Linked DNA regions of Homo sapiens: region 1 is linked to region 2. The links are contacts of gene promoters, found by promoter capture Hi-C in human tissues and cell types (Jung and others, 2019). All regions are on one chromosome and are shown on one strand. The core of a region is centred on a gene start or on the middle of the fragment in contact, and the rest is flanking DNA. Distances in the headings are between cores, read along the strand shown.

Region 1 (5,834 bases), core at 3,273-5,772, 190 kb after region 2:
AAGAAAGAAAAAGAAAAGAAAAAAAGAAAGGGTTCCCACCCTTGGGGAGATTGGTGGCAGAGGCAGAGACAGGCATGCAAAAGGAAGATGTAGCTGAAACTTTTTTTTTTCTTTTGAGATGGAGTCTTGCCCTGTCACCCAGGCTGGAATGCAATGGCACAATCTCAGCTCACTGCAAACTCTGCCTCCCAGGTTCAAGCGATTCGCCTGCCTCAGCCTCCTGAGTAGCTGAGATTACAGGTGCGTGCCACGATTCCTGGCTAATTTTTGTATTTTTTAGTAGAGATGGGGTTTCACCATGTTGGCCAGGCTGGTCTTGAACTCCCGACCTCAGGTGATCCACCCGCCTCGGCCTCCCAAAGTGCTGGGATTACAGGCATGAGCCACTGCACCTGGCCCTTTTGCTTTATTTTTATAAATTAAGTTGGCAGTGTTTTTTTTTTCACAAGGTAATATTTATAAAGTGTTTTTACAATAAAATAGTATTGGCTGGGCACAGTGGCTCACGCCTGTAATCCCAGCACTTTGGGAGGCCAAGGCAGGTGGATCATATGAGGCCAGGAGTTCGAGACCAGCCTGGCCAACGTGGTGAAACCCTGTCTCTACTAAAAATACAAAAATTAGCCGGGCATGGTGGTGCATGCCCGTAATCCCAGCTACTTGGTAGGCTGAGGCACAAGAATCACTTGAACTCAGGGGGCAGAGGTTGCAGTGAGTCAAGATTGCACCACTGCACTCCAGCCTGAGTGACAAAGTGAGACCCTGTCTCAGGAAAAACAAAGAAACAAAGAGATAAAAATAAAATAGTATTAAAAGGATTTTTTTAACAAAAGCCTGTGGTCCCTTGGCCTAGCCTACTCTACCTCTGAGTCCTATTTTCAGGAGGTAGCAACTTCCAACTCTTTAAGCTTCCTCTTATGTTGGTTACCTGCAAATTTCTAAGTCATAAGCTATGTCAGAGACTAACAGCCCTCCACAATCCATGTTCTCTTTTTCCTGGGTGTACAGCTAGATCTCATTCTTCAGCTCCTGCTCCTGTCTCCTCTTCCTCCTTCCAGGCCCCCAGCCCCAAAGTTAGAGGCAATTGAGCTCTAGCCAATGAAATGTGAGCAGAAGTGCTAGTGCCACTTCTAAGCCTGGTCCCTAAAACCACCATGTTCACCCATGTGCTCCTCTATGATCTTTCTTCTTATTTTTTATTTATTTTTTTTTTTGAGGGAGTCTCATTCTGTCGCTCAGGCTAGAGTGCAGTGGCGCAATCTCAGTTCACTGCAACCTCCATCTCACAGGTTCAAGCAATTCTCCTGCCTCAGCCTCCTGAGTAGCTAGGACTACAGGCAAACGCCACCACACCCGGCTAATTTTTTGTATTTTAGTAGAGACGGGGTTTCACCATGTTATCCAGGCTGGTCTTGAACTCCTGAGCTCAGGCAATCTGCCCACCTCAGCCTCCCAAAGTGTTAGGATTACAGGTGTGAGCCACCATGCCCAGCCTATGATCTTTCTTGTTATGGCTGCCTGGAATGGAGATGATGTCCTTGCAGGCTCTGGAAGCCACATACTAAAAGATGAAAGAGCATTCATTAGGCTGGGTACAGTGGTTCACGCCTGTAATCCCAGCACTTTGGGAGGCCAAGAAGGGCAGATTGCTGGAGCTCAGGAGTTCGAGACCAGTCTGGGCAATGTGGTGAAGCCCCAACTCTACTAAAAATACAAAAATTAGCTGGGCGTGGTGGCGCATGCCTATAATCCCAACTACTCGGGAGGCTGAGGCACAAGAGCATGCCACTGCACTCCAGCCTGGGCGACAGAGTGAGAATCCATCTCAAAAAAAAAAAAAAAAGAAAAAAGAAAAAAAAAAGCATTCATCAGCCAGTGTCTGAATGAGGGAAAGAAGGAAGACTGACCTACCAGTCTGCTTCTACCTGCCCAGTACTATTATGAAAAAAGAACTCTATTATGTTTGAGTCAGTGTGCATATTGGCATCTATTTGTTAAAGCAATTAGACTCCCCTATTATATATCCATATATTGATTATCAAGTAGGAAATGCACTAGTAACAGAAACCTAAAGATACAGTGTTATTTTCTCTGATGTCAAAAGGAGTTCAGAGGTAATATTGCAGTCTATGATGCCAAAAGGACCTGGCTCCTTACAGCTTTCCCTTTTATAGCTGTGATCTTCAGGGGTGACCCTATACCTCTGTCTTAGTCTTTTCAATAGAGTTGCCAGAGCTCCAGCCATATGTCTGCAACTAGGGCAGGAGTAAGTAGATGGATGAAAAGGCACAAAAGAAAAGTGCTAGTTGAGTCAACCTTCTTTTTTTTTTTAAATGTATCATGGCTCACTGCAGCTTGACCTTTCCGGGCTCAAGAGACCTTCCCACTTCTGCCTGCCAAGTGGCTGTAGCTAGGACTACACTGACGCACCACCACGCTGGACAATTTTTTTTTCCATAAAGACAGAGTCTTGCTACATTGCCCAGGCTGGTTTTGAACTCCCAAGCTGAAGCTATTCCCCTGCCTCTGCCTCCCAAAGTGTTGGGATTACAGGCATGAGCCACTGTACCTGGACAACCCGCTTGACTGCTTACATTTCAACATCACTGCCAGGGACCTCTCCTTACATTTCAATGGCTACAATTGTGTCACAAGGCCACCCCCACTGCAGAAAAGATGGGCAGATTTTTAATTTTTAGCTGAATGCTCAGCTTCCTCAAGTAAAATCAGTGTTCTGTTAGTAAATAAGAGGAAAAGGATATTATATAGGTTACAGTAGTTGTTATCTGTAATTGCAATCTCAAAATTCTTTAATTGTAGAAGATGTGTTTTTTGTTTGTTTGATTGATTGATTGATTTTTTTCTGAGACAGAGTTTCACTCTTGTTGCCCAGGCTGGAGTGCAGTGGTGCAATCTCAGCTCACTGCAGCTTCCACCTCCTGGGTTCAAGCGATTCTCCTGTCTCAGCCTCCCGAGTAGCTGGGATTACAGGTGCCCGCCACCACACTCGGCTAATTTTTTTGTATTTTTAGTAGAGACGGGATTTCACAATGCTGACCAGGCTGGTCTCAAACTCCTGACCTCAGGTGATCCACCTGCCTCGGCCTCCCAAAGTGTTGGGATTACAGGCGTGAGCCACTGGCCCAGCAAAGATGTGTTTTGAGTTCCAACTGAAAAAGATAAAGATTTGCCTCTCTACCCACTTCTCTCCAGTTTATTCCTACCACTGTCTACCAAAATAGTTACATCTACATCATAGCTGTCCAGTGTTTACTATACGAGTATATTATGATGCATCAAGCTTATTTTCTGATAAGCCAAGCAATAAATATGTCACATTTCTTATATAATTTTTGTTTTTCTTAAGTTTATCTACCTCCTCTCAATATTTATATCCTAACTAATGCACCTTGCATATCTGAAAATGAATTTTTCTACCTTCATACTTCATTGATAGTTTCATTGGGTATTAAATTCTAGGTTGGAAATAATTCTCACTCTGAATCTTGATGGCATGGCTCCATTGCCTTCTAGAAATGATGCCATTATTCTTTCTAATCCTTTCTGCAACCCATTTTTCTCTGTAAGATTATAGGATTTTCTCTATTTCTTTGTGCTCTGTAATTTCACAGTGATGTATCTTAATATAAGGCTTTTCTCATTTGTTGTATGGGGTACTTGATAGGACCTTTCATTTTTGAGATTCATACCCTACAATTCTAGGACATTTCCTATGTTACTTCCTTAACACATCTCTCCTCATCACATCTCCTGTTCTCTCTGGGTCTCTTAATAGTTGAATGTACAATCCCTTATAATAATCATAGAATTTTCTATTCTCTCATATTGTCCATCTCATTGCCTTTTGTTTCCACTTTTGATATTGTGCGCTTTATGATAATACCTGGTCACCTAGTCTTATTGTCAATACTGTGCATGGGCTTGAGGATTTGCTATTAAGTTGTTCTCAAAATTCTGCATTTATCACTATCTTCCCAGAATGTATCCCTTATTCTTAAAACATAGCATTACTTGATATATAATTTCAATTCAACAAACATTTGCCTTTAGCATTGTGAAAAGGACTTTATTTTCTTGTGAGTCCATAAATGTATTTTAAATTATTTTGCTCTAATTTATCTACCATTTGGGTTTTTGCAGTGGGAGAGCTAAACTACTGGAAATAAAAATTTCATATAATTTGTTTGCTAAATGGGATTCTGTATCAGGCTTATTTTCAAATTTTATATGAAGCCTCTGCCAAACACTGTTTTTTTCTTATTTTTAGAATTAATTTTCATTTTTTATCAGAATAATGCAACTGCATTGTTTTAAAAGTCAGTTATGAGCTGCTCTGCCTATGGAGTAGCCATTATTTTATTCCTTTATTTTCTTTTAATAAACTGGCTTTCACTTTTTAAAAAAAAAGTCAATTATGAATAATCAAAAAATGAAATTGGGCTGAGCACGGTGGCTCACACCTGTAATCCTAGCACTTTGGGAGGCCAAGGCGGGAGGATTGCTTGAGCCCAGGAGTTTGACACCAGCCTGGGCTATATGGTGAGACTGTATCTACAAATTTTTTTTAAAATTAGGCAGGTATGGTGGCATGCACCTGTGGTCCCAGCAATTTGGAAGGCTGAGGCAGAAAGATTGCTTGAGCCCAGGAGAAGGTTAAGGATGCAGTGGGCTGTGTTCATGCCACTGCATTCCAGCATAGGTGACAAACAGAGGCCCTGTCTCAAAAAATAAAAATAAAAACACACAAAAAAACTACAAAATGACAGCAATGAAAACCATTCCATTTATCTATATGTCTATCCTTATGCCTTACTGGCATAATCAATAGTCGTTGATTTTCAACCAGTGTGCCTTCAGTGGAAATCAATAGTCATTGATTTTCAACAAATGTACGTTAAATGGAAAAAGAATTGCCTTTTCAACAAATAGTGCTGAGACAACTGGATATCCACATGCAAAAGAATGAATTCAGATCCCTACCACACACCATATGCTAAAACTAACTCAAAATGGAATAAAGACCTTAATGTTTATAGACAATGTTATAAAACTTATAAAAGAAAACACAGATGTATATCTTTGTGATGTTGGATTACTCAACAGTTTCTTAGATATAATACCAAAAACAAAGCACAGTAACAAAAGAAAAAACAGATAACTGGACTTTATCAAAACTAAAAACTTTGCATGTGAAAGGACACTGTCAAGAAAGTAGAAAGACAAAGAATGAGAGGAAATATGTGCAAATCATGTATCTGATAAAGGTCTAATAGCCAGAATATACATATTTTTAAACTCTCACAACTCAACAATAAAAAAATTTGAAAATTAGTAAAGTACTTCAATAGACATTTGTCCAAAGAAGATATACAAATGGCCAATAAGAAATGAAAAGATGTTCATTATTAGTCTTTAGGAAACTAGAAGTCAAAACCACAATGAGAATTTGGAATCTTTGTGCATTGCTGTAGTAATGTAAAATGGTACAGCCACTGTGGAAAACAGTTTGGCAATTTCTCAAAAAGCTCAACATAAAACTAGCAAATGACCCAGCAATTCTATTCCTAGGTATACACCCAAGAAAAATGAAAGCATATGTACATACAATAACTTGTACATGAATGTTCATAGCAGCATTAATCATAACAGCCAAAAAGTGAAAACAGCCTAAATGTCCATCAACTGATAAATGCATAAACGAAATGTGGTATATTTATATGACGGAATATCATTTAGCCATAAAAAGGAATGAAGTACTGATACATATTACAACATGAAAAAAAATTGAAAACATTAGGTTAAGTGAAAGGAAC
Region 2 (5,933 bases), core at 1,564-4,063:
CTAATCATTAGGAAAATACAAATTAAAACCATAATGAAGTATCATTAGACTCTCACCAGAATGTCTAAAATGAAAAAGACTGACAATACCAAGTGTGAGGATGTGGAACAACCAGAACTGCCATTTTGCTGGTGAGATTGGAAACTGATATAATCACCGTTTGGCAATATCTACTAAAGCTTAACATAACTACACCTCTCCTATGACCCAGCAATTCCATCTCCAGGCATATACACAAGAGAAGTGAGTGTGTATGTCCACTAAAATACATAAAAAAGAATGTGTACAGAGGTTTCATTCGTAACAGCCCCAAAGTGGAAACAACCCAAATAGCCACCAAAAGGAAAATGGAAAAAATTGTGGCATAATACAAAAGAATCTATACAACATCTAAATGCACAAACTACCAATGCACGCAACAAAATGTGTGAATCTCTCAGATACTATGTTGCGCAAAAAAAGCCAGATACTGTATGACTCAATGTACATGAAGTTTGGAAATAGGTAATACCAATCAAATGGTCAGAAGAGTATTACTTCTGAGAGTAGAGAGTGGACACCGACTAGGAAGGCGCAATAGGAAAACTTCTAAGGTTCCGGAAGTGTACATGTCTTGATCACGATGGTGTTTACACAAGCATTCACATAGGTAAAATTCAGATGAGTACATTTTACAGTATGTTACACCTCCATTTATTAAGACAGATTAATATGTTTTATTCTGCTACAGTCACTCCCCTTCTCTGGCCTCAATTTCTCCCTCTATTAAATGAAAGGATTAGATTATAAACTTGTTTCCACTGTTAACAGCAATTCTCACACTATAATGCCTGTTCATCTCTCTGTATCCCTTCATTAGACTGAGTGCCTTTACTTGTATACTTCTGACAAATAGTAAACATTCCATGAGTACCAACTGGATGGATAGAAATGAATGAACCTACCAGAATATGTAATATAAATAGCAAAGTAAATGAATGGAATGACAGTAAACACAATGAGAATTAAGAAGAGGGAAAGCTGGAGTAGTCGAGCCCATGACTTGAGCAGGATCCTAAACAATGCTAACTCATGCCCAAAACAAAGTCCGATTTCTCTCTGCTGCTATGCCTTGCTGTTTCCCCAGGACCTTAGCACCACTCTTCGTATTCTAAGCAAGTTTTTTCAGTCTTTCATGGCATATGTCATGGCACACAGAGAAAAAGAAAATTGTATAGTACCATGAAATAAAAGTGTCACAAAGATAAAAATCTCAGCACTTACCTAACTCTTGAAACATGGTGGGTTGTACACAATGCTACAATACAGTTCAGTTCTTGGGGAACTGCCTAAGAAATCTTAAAGAATGTTCATTCTACCTTGCTTTCCATGATCAAAAGTTTAATTTAATGTCAGTTTTTGCTATTTTGCACCTTCCGTTCCACAGCCATGTCGTAGACCTGGAAACCTTTATGGAATCATGACTATGAATTAATCAGTGCAAATGAACTTTCTGTCTGACTCTAGCGTGCCTCAAGTTTAGAAAGGAATAAAAGGTAACCACTATAAAGTAGAAAGGATGAGACCAGTACCATCAAAAGTAGCTGGAATTTGCAGTTTCGGTGTTAGTATGAACATCAAGACATGCTGCCAGCCTCAGACTCTTCTCACTCTCACTACATCTGGCTGATAAAAAAGAGTAATACAGCTCTAAACTGTGCTCGACAAAGGGCAGTATAGAGCTTTAGGAACACATGTACTTCATGTTATAGAGGCAGCCCTGAAGAACTGCCTGTCAACCAAACTATATTTTAAGTATCCTGTTAAAGATTATTAGTTGACCCCAGTGGCAAATTCTATAAGAGAATAATCTGCAATGAGAGATCAGTCCTTAATTTACTTCAATCAATAAACACGTTTTGAGCAACTAGTTTTTGCCAAGAAATCGCAGAGGTCACATGTCCAAGAAATAGACTCATGGAATCTATGGATTAGAATCTTAAAGGTTTACTATCCAGTCCCTTCTTCTGATTGCTGAGTAGGAGATTCTGATTGCTGAATCTCCTCTCCTCCACATAAGTAAGCGTTCTTCCAGTTCCTATTTGAGCGCTTCTAGTAACGGGAAGCTCATGAGAAGCAATCCATTGCACTTTTGGCAACTCTAATTGTTGAAAGCTCTCCCTAACAAACACCAAGATCTGCCTCTTCCATCAACTAGTTCTAGGTATAGAGGCCAGAATCAAGAACTAGTCTAACTCCTCTTTCCGGGACAGCTGAGGCCCTGACACCTGGCAGTGGCTGACACCTCCCGGCCGGGGCGGCTGCATCCCTAAACGAAAAATCGAAGCTGCCAGCAGCCGAGGTGCAGCGAAGAAGGCCCGGGGCTGGGGGTCAGGAGGCCCGCGTGCGACAGAGGAACGCTCTGTGGTCGTGGACAGGACGCTTTGACAAGGCGGCTGGCTGGGCGGATTCCCTCTCCGACTCGGGGAGAATCTGCACACATACGCCAGCGGAGTTGACGCGACCCCCGGGCCCCGGGACTCGGCTTGCACGAGCCAGTCTGGGGACCGGGGAGGCGGGGAGAGGGAAGGGGAAAGCGCGGACGCGGCCCAAACCTCCAGTAGCCGCAGCCGCCGTCGCCGAGTAGGGCCGGGCAGCCAGCCGGGCCTGGCGCAGCATCAGTGCCCGCTGCCGCTTCCGCTCGATACTCGCCCGCACCGAGGCAGGCAGCTCCGCGGGTTGCTCTAAAGCCGCCGCCTCCGGCAAAGCCCCGTCGGCCGCCGCCATCTCTGGCCCACTCCGAGGACCTAGCTCCCAGCTCCACGCACGCGCACTGCACGCCGAGGCGAGCCAGCCGCCCTGCACCGCCTCTGCGCTCCCCGCACCCAGCGGCCTTTCTGAGTGAGAGCGCCTGCGCAGTTAAGGGGCTCGGGGTGGCCTGCCCGGGCGCTGGGCGGAGTCTGGGTATGCGCGGACACGGAGTACCCGCCTAACTACCTGCTCTCTTGTCATCCGGGAGAAGGGTCCGTGCTGAGATCATATCTCACGACCTGGTCACCTTTAAAATAGGTCTCGCTTGGTGATTCAGAGTATAGGCTTTGGAGTCAGGCCTGGGTTAAGTCTGAGCTCTTGACAGTTAAAGTCTGTGTGACCTTGGGCAAGTTATTTAACCAGAGTTCAGTTTCTTCAGTGGTAAAATGAGGATAATTATGGAACCATTTACCGAGTCTTTGGGAGGATTAGATTGCCAGGACAATAACCTGGCACGTAGAAGACCTCAAAAAATGGTAACAGTGAGTAGTAGTAGTGCCAGTCATAGAGCCCAACAGATGATAGTCCTGATTTTATGTTGGATACACGGCCTAGAGACACAGCCTTAGATTTAAAATGAGAAGACCTGGGTTGAAACTCCCAGTTAACTTGCTGTGTGACCTCAGGCAAATGCAGGACTTGCTCCAAGGCTGATATGCATAAGGTTGGCTATCTTTCCCATGGAATATTCCTTCAGTGAGGATGAGCTACTGCCAGGTAGACAGTGGGTTTGGATCTGGGCCAAATATCCTGACTTCCCAAAAGTGTGGCTAGTGTAACAAAAGAAACATAGCAGGCTTTCCCAAAAATGTATGCTTTCCCTTTGTTACAAATAATGCTTAATTGAAACCAGAAAACATTAACTTCTAATTACTACATGTACCATTTAGGACTGGCTTTTAGAAAGACAACCTCACACACTGATGTTTCCCACTAATGTTCAATGGTTAACCTTTCAGAAACACAATTCAGTGTTCTAATTTATCGGTCATATATACATAAAGCTGCAAAACCTCGTATAAAGCAGTTACCTGCTGAAATCTTAGGTTGAATTGGAGATAGAATCTCAAGCCATCCCCATCTCCCTTCCCCTCAGATCCTTCTTTCTCCCTACCCATCAATCTTGCCCAGGTGAAACTATTTCAAATTCCATAACATCAAAAGCACAAGCAACAAAAGAAAAAAAGCTGGACTTCATTAAAATTAAAAACTAGGCTGGGCACAGTGGTTCACACCTGTAATCTCAACAGTTTGGGAGGCCAAGGCAGGAGGATGACTTGAGGTCATGAGTTCAAGACAAGCTGAGGCAACACAGTGAGACCCTGTCACTATTAAAAAATAATAATAATTGGCAAGGTGCAGTGGCTCATGTCTGTAATCCCAGCCCTTTGGGAGGCCAACACAGGAGGATTGCTTGAGACCAGGAGTTCAAGACCAACCTGGGCAATGTAACAAGAACCCATCTCAGGAGGTCAAGGCTGCAGTGAGCTGTGATGGCACCACTACACTCCAGCCTGGGCAACACAATAACATCTTGTCTCAAAAAAAAATTAAAGTCGTCGGCAAAGCCTGAGTCCTGTCCTCTCACTCTCCTCCCTGGACAGCATAAGCTTCACCACTCGCTCCACCTTCTCCACCAACTACCGGTCCCTGGGTTCTGTCCAGGCACCCAGCTACGGTGTCCGGCTGGTCAGCAGCATAGCCAGCGTCTGTACAGGCACGGGGGCTCTGGTTCCCGGATCTCCATGTCCCGCTCCACCAGCTACCTGAGCAGCATGGGTTCCGGGGGCCTGGCCGCGGGGATGGCCAGGGGTCTGGCAGGAATGAGAGGCATCCAGAACAAGAAGGAGACCGTGCAAAACCTGAACAACTGCCTGGCCTCCTACCTGGACAGAATGAGGAGCCTGGAGGCCAAGAACTGGAAGCTGGAGAGTAAAATCCAGGAGCACCTGTAGAAGAAGGGACCCCAGGTCAGAGATGAGCCATTACTTCAAGACCATTGAGGGCCTGAGGACTCAGATCTTCACAAATACTGTGGACAATGCCTGCATTGTTCTGCAGATTGACAATGCTGGTCTTGCTGCTGATGACTTTAGAGTCAAGTATGAGACAGAGCTGGCCATGCGCCAGTCTGTGGAGAGCCACATCCATGGGCTCCGGAGGTCACTGATGACACCAGTGTCACTCGGCTGCAGCTGGAGACAGAGATCGAAGCTCTCAAGGAGGAGCTGCTCTTCATGAAGAAGAACCACGAAGAGGAAGTAAAAGTGTTGTACCCGAGCGAGTTAAAAAAACGCCACACTTTGAGATGAATTAAGAGTCCTTTATTAGCCGGCGACCGAGAGACGGCTAACGCTCAAAATTCTCTCGGCCCCGAGGAAGGGGCTTGATTAACTTTTATACCTTGGTTTAGAAAGGGGGGGTCGTCTAGTTAAAACAATTTTACAGAAGTTAAGTAGTCAAAAAGTTAAAAGGATAAATGGTTACAGGAAAGTAAACAGTTCCAGATGCAGGGGCTTTAAGACTATTACAAGGTTATAGATGCAGGGCTTTGGGCGTTATCAAACAGATGAATTCTTGGGGACTGTGGATATAGCTTGCCACAGTATCTTATCAGTTAATTGCATTCTTGGATGTGCTGGGAGTCAGCTTGCACAAGTTAAGTCCTTGAGGAAGGGGCTGCCAGTGAAAGAGCCAAGATGGAGTTTGTCTGGTTCTCTTAGCTAAGGGAGAGTCTGTTCAGGTGGAAACAAGCCTAGGTGAAAAAGGAAAAATGAGGTTGGGCATTACAAAAGGCCTACAAGCCTAGATTGCCAGCTCTGGGTTGACCATGGAGGTAGATGCCCCCAGTCTCGGGACCTTGCCAAGATCATGGCAGACATCCGGCCCCAATATGATGAGCTGGCTCGGAAGAACTGAGAGGAGCTGGACAAATACTGGTCTCAGCAGATTGAGGAGAGCACCTCAGTGGTCACCACGCAGTCCACCGAGGTTGGAGCTGCTGGGATGATGCTCACGGAGCTGAGATGTATAGTCCAGTCCTTGAAGATCAACCTGGACTCCATGAGAAATCTGAAGGCCAGCTTGGAGAACAGCCTGAGGGAGGTCGAGGCCCGCTATGCCTTGCAGAGGGAGCAGCTCAA

The links. The method cuts DNA at HindIII sites, captures the fragments that hold promoters and counts their contacts. A contact is called where the count stands out against the background at its distance.
Region 1: a fragment that was not itself captured here is called in contact with the fragment with the promoter of XPA in region 2 in 1 of the 25 tissues and cell types used here (H1 embryonic stem cells).

Annotation. Positions count from the first base shown.
Region 1 is chr9:97,878,145-97,883,978 of GRCh38, forward strand. No RefSeq gene overlaps it. Among named protein-coding and RNA genes, the nearest start is that of FOXE1, 28 kb to the left of the region's middle. RefSeq lists an enhancer at 1-83. The HindIII fragment of the contact is 4,836 bases long and covers 2,105-5,834 here.
Region 2 is chr9:97,694,527-97,700,459 of GRCh38, forward strand. XPA (XPA, DNA damage recognition and repair factor) reads right to left here and starts at 2,814. Exons shown (of 6, transcript NM_000380.4): 1 at 2,595-2,814. The coding sequence starts at 2,766. PTCSC2 (papillary thyroid carcinoma susceptibility candidate 2) reads right to left here. Exons shown (of 11, transcript NR_147055.1): 11 at 5,099-5,545. It also overlaps the pseudogene KRT18P13. RefSeq lists enhancers at 2,206-2,265, 2,276-2,325 and a silencer at 2,876-2,975. The HindIII fragment of the contact is 10,254 bases long and covers 1-5,933 here.